3 separate regions of the Homo sapiens genome follow, and regions 1 and 2 are each linked to region 3. The links are contacts of gene promoters, found by promoter capture Hi-C in blood cells and fetal thymus (Javierre and others, 2016). All regions are on one chromosome and are shown on one strand. The core of a region is centred on a gene start or on the middle of the fragment in contact, and the rest is flanking DNA. Distances in the headings are between cores, read along the strand shown.

What was found. Contacts are between HindIII fragments. The CHiCAGO score rates a contact against its expected background, and 5 or more counts as called.
Region 1: a contact is called between the fragment with the promoter of TMEM150B here and the fragment with the promoter of TNNT1 in region 3, in 3 of 17 cell types (erythroblasts, naive CD4 T cells and total CD4 T cells). The highest score is 9.4, in erythroblasts.
Region 2: a contact is called between the fragment with the promoter of COX6B2 here and the fragment with the promoter of TNNT1 in region 3, in 7 of 17 cell types (non-activated CD4 T cells, activated CD4 T cells, total CD8 T cells and 4 more). The highest score is 7.7, in non-activated CD4 T cells.

What each region holds. Positions count from the first base shown.
Region 1 is chr19:55,323,987-55,326,686 of GRCh38, forward strand. TMEM150B (transmembrane protein 150B) reads right to left here and starts at 1,355. Exons shown (of 8, transcript NM_001282011.2): 1 at 1,286-1,355. The HindIII fragment of the contact is 16,718 bases long and covers 1-2,700 here.
Region 2 is chr19:55,353,283-55,355,982 of GRCh38, forward strand. It overlaps COX6B2 (cytochrome c oxidase subunit 6B2), which reads right to left and starts at 1,437. Exons shown (of 5, transcript NM_144613.5): 1 at 1,368-1,437; 2 at 1,128-1,257; 3 at 584-684; 4 at 325-492. The coding sequence starts at 1,239. The coding sequence ends at 439. GARIN5B (golgi associated RAB2 interactor family member 5B) reads right to left here. Exons shown (of 11, transcript NM_001145402.2): 10 at 1,978-2,063; 11 at 1,626-1,813. The coding sequence ends at 2,018. RefSeq lists silencers at 752-861, 972-1,021. The HindIII fragment of the contact is 2,438 bases long and covers 1-1,640 here.
Region 3 is chr19:55,147,923-55,150,622 of GRCh38, forward strand. TNNT1 (troponin T1, slow skeletal type) reads right to left here and starts at 1,284. Exons shown (of 14, transcript NM_003283.6): 1 at 1,239-1,284. The HindIII fragment of the contact is 19,232 bases long and covers 1-2,700 here.

The DNA of each region.
Region 1 (2,700 bases), core at 105-2,604, 180 kb after region 3:
TGATAAAGACAGAGTTTCACCATGTTGGCCAGGCTGGCCTCAAAATGCTGACCTCAAGTGATCCCCCTGCCTCAGCCTCCCAAAGTGCTGGGATTACAGGCGGAAGCCATCGCGCCCAACCCGTCTGGTGTATTTTATGCTCAGTGTAATGTTTTTGAGATTCATCCATGTTGTGGCATGTATTAGTGTTTCATTCCTTTATTTTTTATTTTTATTTTTTAAACAGCCAGGGTCGGCTGGGCAAGGTGGCTGACGCCTGTAGTCCCAGCACTTTGGGAGGCTGAGGCAGGTGGATCACCTGAGGTCAGGAGATCGAGACCAGCCTGGCCAACATGGTGAAAACCTGTCTCTACTAAAAATACAAAAAAAAATTAGCTGGGTGGCCGGGCATGGTGGCTCACGCCTGCAATCCCAGCACTTTGGGAGGCCGAGGTGGGCAGATCATGAGATCAGGAGTTTGAGACCAGCCTGGCCAACATAGTGAAACCCCGTCTCTACTAAAAATACAAAAATTAGCCGGGTGTGGTGGCAGGCACCTGTAATCCCAGCTACTCGGGAGGCTGAGGCAGGAGAATCGCTTGAACCCAGGAGGCGGAGGTTGCAGTGAGCCGAGATCGCACCACTGCATTCCAGCCTGGGCGACAGAGTGAGACTCCGTCTCCAAAAATAAATAAAATAAAATAAATAAATAAAATAAAAAATAAATCCTGTCCCAGTGGGGCTGATAGAGGGCAAAGCTCTCCAAGTCCTCCTCACCCCTTCTGCTGCCAAATGCCTCTCCTCTGGGTCTCGTCTTCCTCCTTTCGCTTCTTTTTCCGGAGGTCTCCGTTTGCCCAGACATGAATCTGAGCCACCCCCTGCCCTCAGGGGAATCCCTGTCTGTGGGCAACACAGATGATCAGCAGGTGACAGCTCCTCTAAAGGAAGTCACACAAAGCTATGAGGGAGCCCAGGGGAGGGAGGGGTCCATGCTACCTGCTCCTCCGTCGGCCCTCAACACTGATCTCCTGCCCTGCCCTGTCCTGTGTTTGCCACCTGGCTGATTCCCACTTCTCTTCCAAAAACATAATAATAATAAAGACGAGAAAGCCCAGGTGATCCTAAGGAAGACTTGTCCCCGCTCTGAGCCTCCATACCCAACTCGGTGTCCTGGCACAAAGATGAGTTTGGCTCACTGGTGTCCCCACGGTGCTTATGTGACCTGCTTGGACCCTCCCTGGGAGGACAGGGGACAGGGCTCCAGCCTGCCGAGCTACTTTCAAGTTGGGAATTAGGCCCCACTCACCGGCCACGGGTAGGTTGGGTGTCTGGAGCCTGAAGGATCCTTCCAGAAGCTAGGGCTGCTGGCCTGGCTCAGCCGAGGGGAAGAGGCTGTGCTTTTCCTCTGAGAAAGATGACGTTGCACTTTCATATTGAGGAAACCGCTTGTGGTTGGTGGTGGGGACTGGTTTTTATTTTTATTTTTATTTTTTTATTTTATTTTTTATTTTTGAGACGGAGTTTCGCTCTTGTTGCCCAGGCTGGAGTGCAATGGCGCGATCTCAGCTGACCGCAACCTCTGCCCCCGGGTTCAAGCGATTCTCCTGCTCAGCCTCCCAAGTAGCTGGAATTACAGTCATGCACCACCACACCCGGCTAATTTTGTATTTTTTTAGTAGAAACAGGGTTTCTCCATGTCGGTCAGGCTAGTCCCAAACTCCTGACATCCGGTGTTCCACCCGCCTCGGCCTCCCAAGTGCTAGGATTACAGGCGTGAGCCACCGCGGCCGGCCTATTTTTATTTTTATATCCCTAGATGTCTATGTCCCCTGCCTGGAAGTTTCCCCAGAGAGGGGATGTAGACGTCTAGGAACACAGAGGTCTCAGAACCTTCCCCAGGGAGGGGATGTACACCTCTAGAGATAGATGGGTCTCGGACCTCTGTTTTCTTGTCTGCAAAACAGGGATCATGATGGTCTGCCCTCGTGCAATTGTGAGGGTTTATTGGGGTTATCCACATAAGACCCTAAAAGAATGCCTGTCTGACCGGGCCCGGTGGCTCACGCCTGTAATCCCAGCATTTTGGGAGGCTGAGGCGGGTGGATCACCTGAGGTCATGAGTTCGAGACCAGCCTGGCCAATATGGCGAAACCCCGTTTCTACTAAAAATACAAAAATTAGCTGGGCATGGTGGCGGGCGCCTGTAATCCCAGCTACTCAAGAGGCTGAGGCCGGAGAATCGCTTGAATCCAGGAAGTGGAGGTTGCAGTGAGTCGAGATTGTGCCACTACACTCCAGCCCGGACGACAAGAGCGAAACTCCCTCTCAAAAAAACAAAAAAGAAAGAAAGAAAAGAAAAGCAAGAGATTGACTGGGGATGAGGTTGCTGAAGGATAAAGGAGGAGAAAGGCCAGGCGCGGTGGCTTAAGCCTGTAATCCCAGCACTTTGGGAGGCCAAGGCAGGCGGATCACGAGGTCAGGAGTTCAAGACCAGCCTGGCCAATATGGTGAAACCCCGTCTCTACTAAAAATACAAAAAAAAAAAGAAAAAAAGAAAAAGGAGGAGAAAGACCAGGAGTGGCTGGGAGAGACTTCAGACTGCAACGTGAGTGGGTCTGGGTCTGACACTGGAGAAAGGAGATGGGGAGAGTGGAAGAATCACAGACCATGTGCAGTTCTGAGAACCCCGGTCAGGTCAGCTGGGAAATGTGGTGCAAAGAT
Region 2 (2,700 bases), core at 187-2,686, 210 kb after region 3:
GTAGGTGTGGTGATTGGAGGCAGGAGCACCTTGGAGCCATCTGGGTGGGACAGTGTTGAGAACTGGGGACCCTGGGCTGGCTCGTAGCTGTCAACGCGAGGCATCTACCTGCTGGAATGGAGAGGGAGAAGGGGGACGGGAGGCATTCGGCTTCCTGTCTTAGGGCCTTGACTGCCTGCTGCTACCTGATGGAGCAGCAGTCCCCCACCTGCCCCTTATCGGAAAAAGCAGCGTTAGCCCGGACACAGGCACACGGAGGATCCCCACCACCACCACGACGCATCGCTGGCTGGGCATTAAGAAGAAACATCAGCAACAGCATACCATTATTCGTGGCTTAGACACTGGGAGGTAGGGGTGGATAACCGAGACCCGGGGCTCCGCGAGACAAAAAGATGCAGGATCACTGCATCTTCAGAGGAAGCCGCGCTGGGGCAGTCAGATTTTGCCGGCGAAAATCCCGTTCTTGATCTGCTCGTTCCAGCTCTCCACCTGGGAAGCAGAAAGGCAGGGAGCGGGACGCCGGCTCAGCCTCGGCCGAGCCCTGCACACGCCTGGCCCGGCGCCCCCTCTGCCGACTCACCCAGCTGATGGGGCACAGCGAGTGGTACACGCGGAAATAGTACTCGCAGGGCTGCGTGCTCTTCCCGCGGCGGGTCCTGGTCTTGAGGCAGCGGTGGTAGTCTGTGGCGGGCGGGGGTCACGCGGCAAGCCACGCCCATTCCAGGACAGGACCCGCCCCTCCACTGCTCGGGCCCTCCCAGTTCTTCGCTGCTTCGTCCCGCCTCCCTCTCCCCTGGAGGCCTCCGTCCCGCCCCTCCCAGCCAGGCCCCGACCCCTACCTCCCTCACACTGCTCCTCCTACCCAGACCCTGCCCCTACCTACCTCGCCCCGCACCTTCACGACTCGGCCCCGCACCTTCCAGATCAGGCCTCGCCCCTACCAACCTCGCCCCGCCCCTCCAGGCTCAGCCCCGCCTTTTCTCGACCAGGCCCCGCCCCCACCAACCCGGCCCCGCCCGGCCTCCCACCCTAACGGTCTCCGCGGGACTTAGGGTGGGAGTGCCCCTCCCTGCCGTCCCTTGTCACACCCTGCTCCTCCCATAACCTGGCTGAGCAGGTCTCACCCAGGAAGTTCTGGTAGCAGTTACGGATCTGGTTCTGGCTGGGGAAGCGCGGGTCGAAGGGCGGCGTCGACCATTTCCCCTTGGGGGGCTCCTGGGCTTCCACATCCAACATCCACGAAGGAGGCAACTCCTGCGAGACGGGACGGGACGGGGACTCCGTGGGGCCGAGGGGGCGCCCTCGCTCCGACCCGTCTCCCCATCCTGACCCCCGCCCCTGAACCCCACCCGTCGTGCCCTCACCAGCCTGACGTTGGCGGCCACTGGATCTGCTGTGGGATGGTCCCGGGGTGCCGCTCGCTTCTGAGTCCGCGGGGTGCGGTCCCACCCGGGTCAGGAGAAACGCACCCCGCGGCCGGATTGGCTAGGACGCCCGAGCCCCAGCCAATGGGAGCCGTCGTGCACCGCGGGGCTGGTAGGGGCGCCCCCACCCCACCCCTTGCTCCCCCGACGCCCCCTCGGGGGCCTGCGCGTGCACACAGGCACCGAGGTGCGACTCGCTGAGTCTCAGGCTCAAGCTTTAATCTCTGCGAAGTTGGGCGGCTCCACGGGCTCGCCCCCGCCCCCCCCCGCCCCCCAATATATAAAGGCATATCCATAGTTCTGGTATCTACCAGAGGGGGCAAATCCCCCCAAGCGGCTTTCAACATTCCGCTTCCTACAGTCGGTGCGCACAGAACCCTCGGGGCCTGTGGGGTTAAGAGGAAAGAGCAGCGGTGGGGTCCGGGCTCCTGGGAACCCCCCCGCCCCCCTCGTCCTCCCCCCTCCGTTACCCGCCCCCCCCACCCTCCTCCCTCGCCCCCCTCCCCCCGCCCCCAGGTCTAAGGCAGATCTCCAGGGTCTTAAAGGGTACCTGGCAGCGCTGGGCTCCTCTGGACAGTTTCCAACTGAGGTTAAGCCCCCGCATCCGGCCACTCGGAGTGCTGGGAGTGCTGCAGGCTGCAGGGAGAAAGCAAGCCAGAGAGAGCTTTGGGGGACAGGGTAGGGAGAGAGGGGTACCCAGGGCTTTAAGAGCTGCAGATGCCTGGCTTAGGAGAGCGTCCCCCAGGGCGGGTCTTGCTGTGTGTTTGGCTCACTGTTGTATCTGCCTGGGGCAGAGTCTGGCAGTAGTAAATGCACAATAAATCCGAGGCGGAATCAATGAGTCTTGGCTCTAGGGGCAGACAAGTAACTGGAATCTGGGCAGGTGGTTTCACCTCTAGATCCCTGCTAAGCTTCTCTCCCTCCTGCCTGGTTAATATCAGGCCTGACTCAGGATTGTTTACACTGACAGCCAAATGTACGAATTAAGAATCCCGGCCAGGTGCGGTGGCTCATGCCTGTAATCCTAGCATTTTGTGGGGCAGAGGCGGGAGGATTGCTTGAGTCCAGGAGTCTGAGACTAGCCTGGACAACATGGTGAAACCCCATCTCTACAAAAAATACCAAAATTAGCCAGGCGTGTTGGTGCGTGCCTGTGGTTCCAGCTACTGAGGAGGCTGAGGCAGGAGAATCACCTGAGCCTGGGTAGCTTGAGGCTGCAGTGAGCTGTGATGGCATCACTGCACTTCAGTCTGGGCAACATGTGAGACCTCTT
Region 3 (2,700 bases), core at 34-2,533:
GGGAGGAGGGCTCAGGTCTGGACTCTTGGGTCTGAGGGAGGGGGCCGGCTGTCCTAAAGCATGCATGAGGACAGACCTTGGTAGGTGTGGTCCTGGCACAGCCAGGAGGCTGCAGACCCTGCCCCCTCAGCACAGCTGTCCTCTTTTGTCTTATGACAAGTCCATGGGAACCTGATCCAGTTGGGATTAGGAAGAGGCATTTGAGAAGGGACAGTGGCCTGAAGACAATAGCTGCCCCACCCCCAGGAGCTATTTTGGGGGGATGTCATAGATGGTGAAACCGAGGACATTTCCTAAGAAGGGATTTGAGGAAGGGGGGCTTCTGGGAGAATTAGTCACCCGCATCCCCTCTCCCACTCGCCCCACCCCACTGGCTGGTTTCCTCCCCACCTGTCTCCCCTTTCACCTTCCCATACATCACGTAGGGGGCAGGGGCATAAAGGGCACCTTCTGTCCGTAGACCTCACCCTGACCCCTACATTCTTAGACCTCAAAGTCTTTGAGACACCCTAGGCCACAGGGTGCCTAGCCCCAAATCCCAATACCCACAGATTCTGAGACCCCGATTTATGATGCCCGTGTTTCTGAGGCCAGCAAGTCCTCACAGCTCTGGATTCTGAAATCCCAGTTCTTGATAGTCCAGATATGGGCCGGGACATCCTAAGACCACCCCCAGGTCTTGAGACCTCCTAAAATCTGAAACCTCAAGAATATGAGACCCCCAAAATCTTGATACCCAAACTCGGAGGCCCAGTTCATGATACCCCAGATAATGGCACTCTAAGTTTTCATGCTTTCTATCATAATGTCTCAGATTCCGAGCCCTCCACTACCAAAACCCCAATTTCTTCTGAGACCCCCCCAATTCCTGATACCCTCAGAGTCTGAGGCCCCAAATCCTGACACCCAGATTGTTTGACCTCCAAGTCCAGATATCCCTGACTGCTGAGATTTCCCCCAGATTCCCAGAACCCCAAGATCCTAGGAGGTTTTATTCTGGGACATCCAAGTCCTGGCAGCCCCGGGTTAGGATTTGTGTAACCCACAAATCCTAGTATTTTCCCCTCTATCCTGAGTCCCCCTAAAGTCTGAGCCTCTCAAGTTCCCAGACCTCCAGTTGTATGCCCCACCTACCTCTGCACCATTTCTCCACACCCGACATCTTCCCCACCTGCCTCCTGCCCCCTCCCCCAAGGACATGGTTTTTGAAGACCACAGGGCTCCGCAGAGCCCCTTACCTAGGCTGTGTCTGAGATGCTGTGAATCTTGAGGCTGAGCCTTGCTGAGGGCACTGAAGCTCCGGGGAGTTTATAGCTGGAGGCTCGGGCCCGCCCCGAGGGGAGAGGGAGGGGGAGAGAATTCCTTTGCTCAAACACAAGCCTGGGAGTTCAGAGACAGCCCTGCTGCCCCTGGCTCCACACTCAGAGTCCAGAAGCCTCCGTGGGCCCCTCCCCAACCCCATGCCAACCCCATCTGCATGGCCCAGGAGCCCCGCCCCTGCTCCCACCCCACACCCCAGGCTCCCGTGGTGCTCCAACTACCTCCCTTATAGCTCCCTGTGCTTTGACGTCCCCATGCCCGGCACACAGTAGGTCCTTGGAGGACCTACTAATGACACATGGGCTATAAGGAATGTTTCCTGTTTTCTTCTCTCTGTTCCCTCTTTCTATCTAGGTCTCTTTCTGGACCCCCATTTCTGTTGTCTCTGTGGCTCTCCATCTGTGTGTCTCTGTGTGTCTGTCTCTACTTCTTAGTCTCCTCCTCTGTCTCTGTCCATCTTTTTGTCTCCTCCTCCCACCCCCACCCCTTTGTCTGCCGCCAGGATTCCATCCTGGTGACAACAGGCACTAAAGCCGGGAAGCAGGTGTGGGGAGGGGGAGGGGGAGGGTGGGGTGTCAATTAGGGTGAAACCTACCCTCCCTCCCCACCTCCATCTAACGCTGATCTTTTTTGGTATCCCCCTCCCGCTTCCCAGCCAAGCCATGACCTTGAGTTCTAGGTTCAAGCCAGCCCTGGAGAGCAGGCTTCCTCACCCTCCCCGCCTCTCCGTACCTCTGTCTCTGGTGGTCTCGGTCTTTGTGTTTCTGTGCATTTCTCGGGGCCCCTTGCTGGGTCTGTCTTGGGCTCTCTCTGCATCTGTCGCTTTCTGAGCCCCTCAGTGTGTTTCTCGGCATGTGTCTCCGGGTGGTTTTGTCTCTGCATTTCTGTGGGTGTCTCTGCATGTCTGCCCCTCTCAGCGTTTGTGTCTGTGGGGGCTCACAGTCTCTCTGTGCATTTCTGTCCACCTATGACCCCATTTCTGTCTCTTTTTGGCTCTGGGTCTCTGTGTCTGTGTTCACGTCTCTATCTTTCTAGTTCTCTCCATGTCTCTCTTAGTGCCCGCAGTTCCCCCTCTGTGGCTCTCCATTTCCATCTCTTATAGGGTCTCCATGTCTCTGCACCTTGCTGTGAGTATATCTCTGTCTCTCTTTTCTCCTTTCTTTGCACTTCCTTCTATGCATCTTGTGGTATTTTCTCCCTCTCTCTTTGGGTCTTTGCCTGGCTCCTACTCTCTCTACTCCCAACTCAGTCTCTCTGTTGTCGGTCATGTCTCTCTGCCTGTCTGTTTCTCTGTGTCTCTCTCTCTTTGACCTTTAGTCTTGGCATCTCTGTGCACTCCACATGGGCCAGAGGAGCTGTGACAATAGAGATCAGAAGACT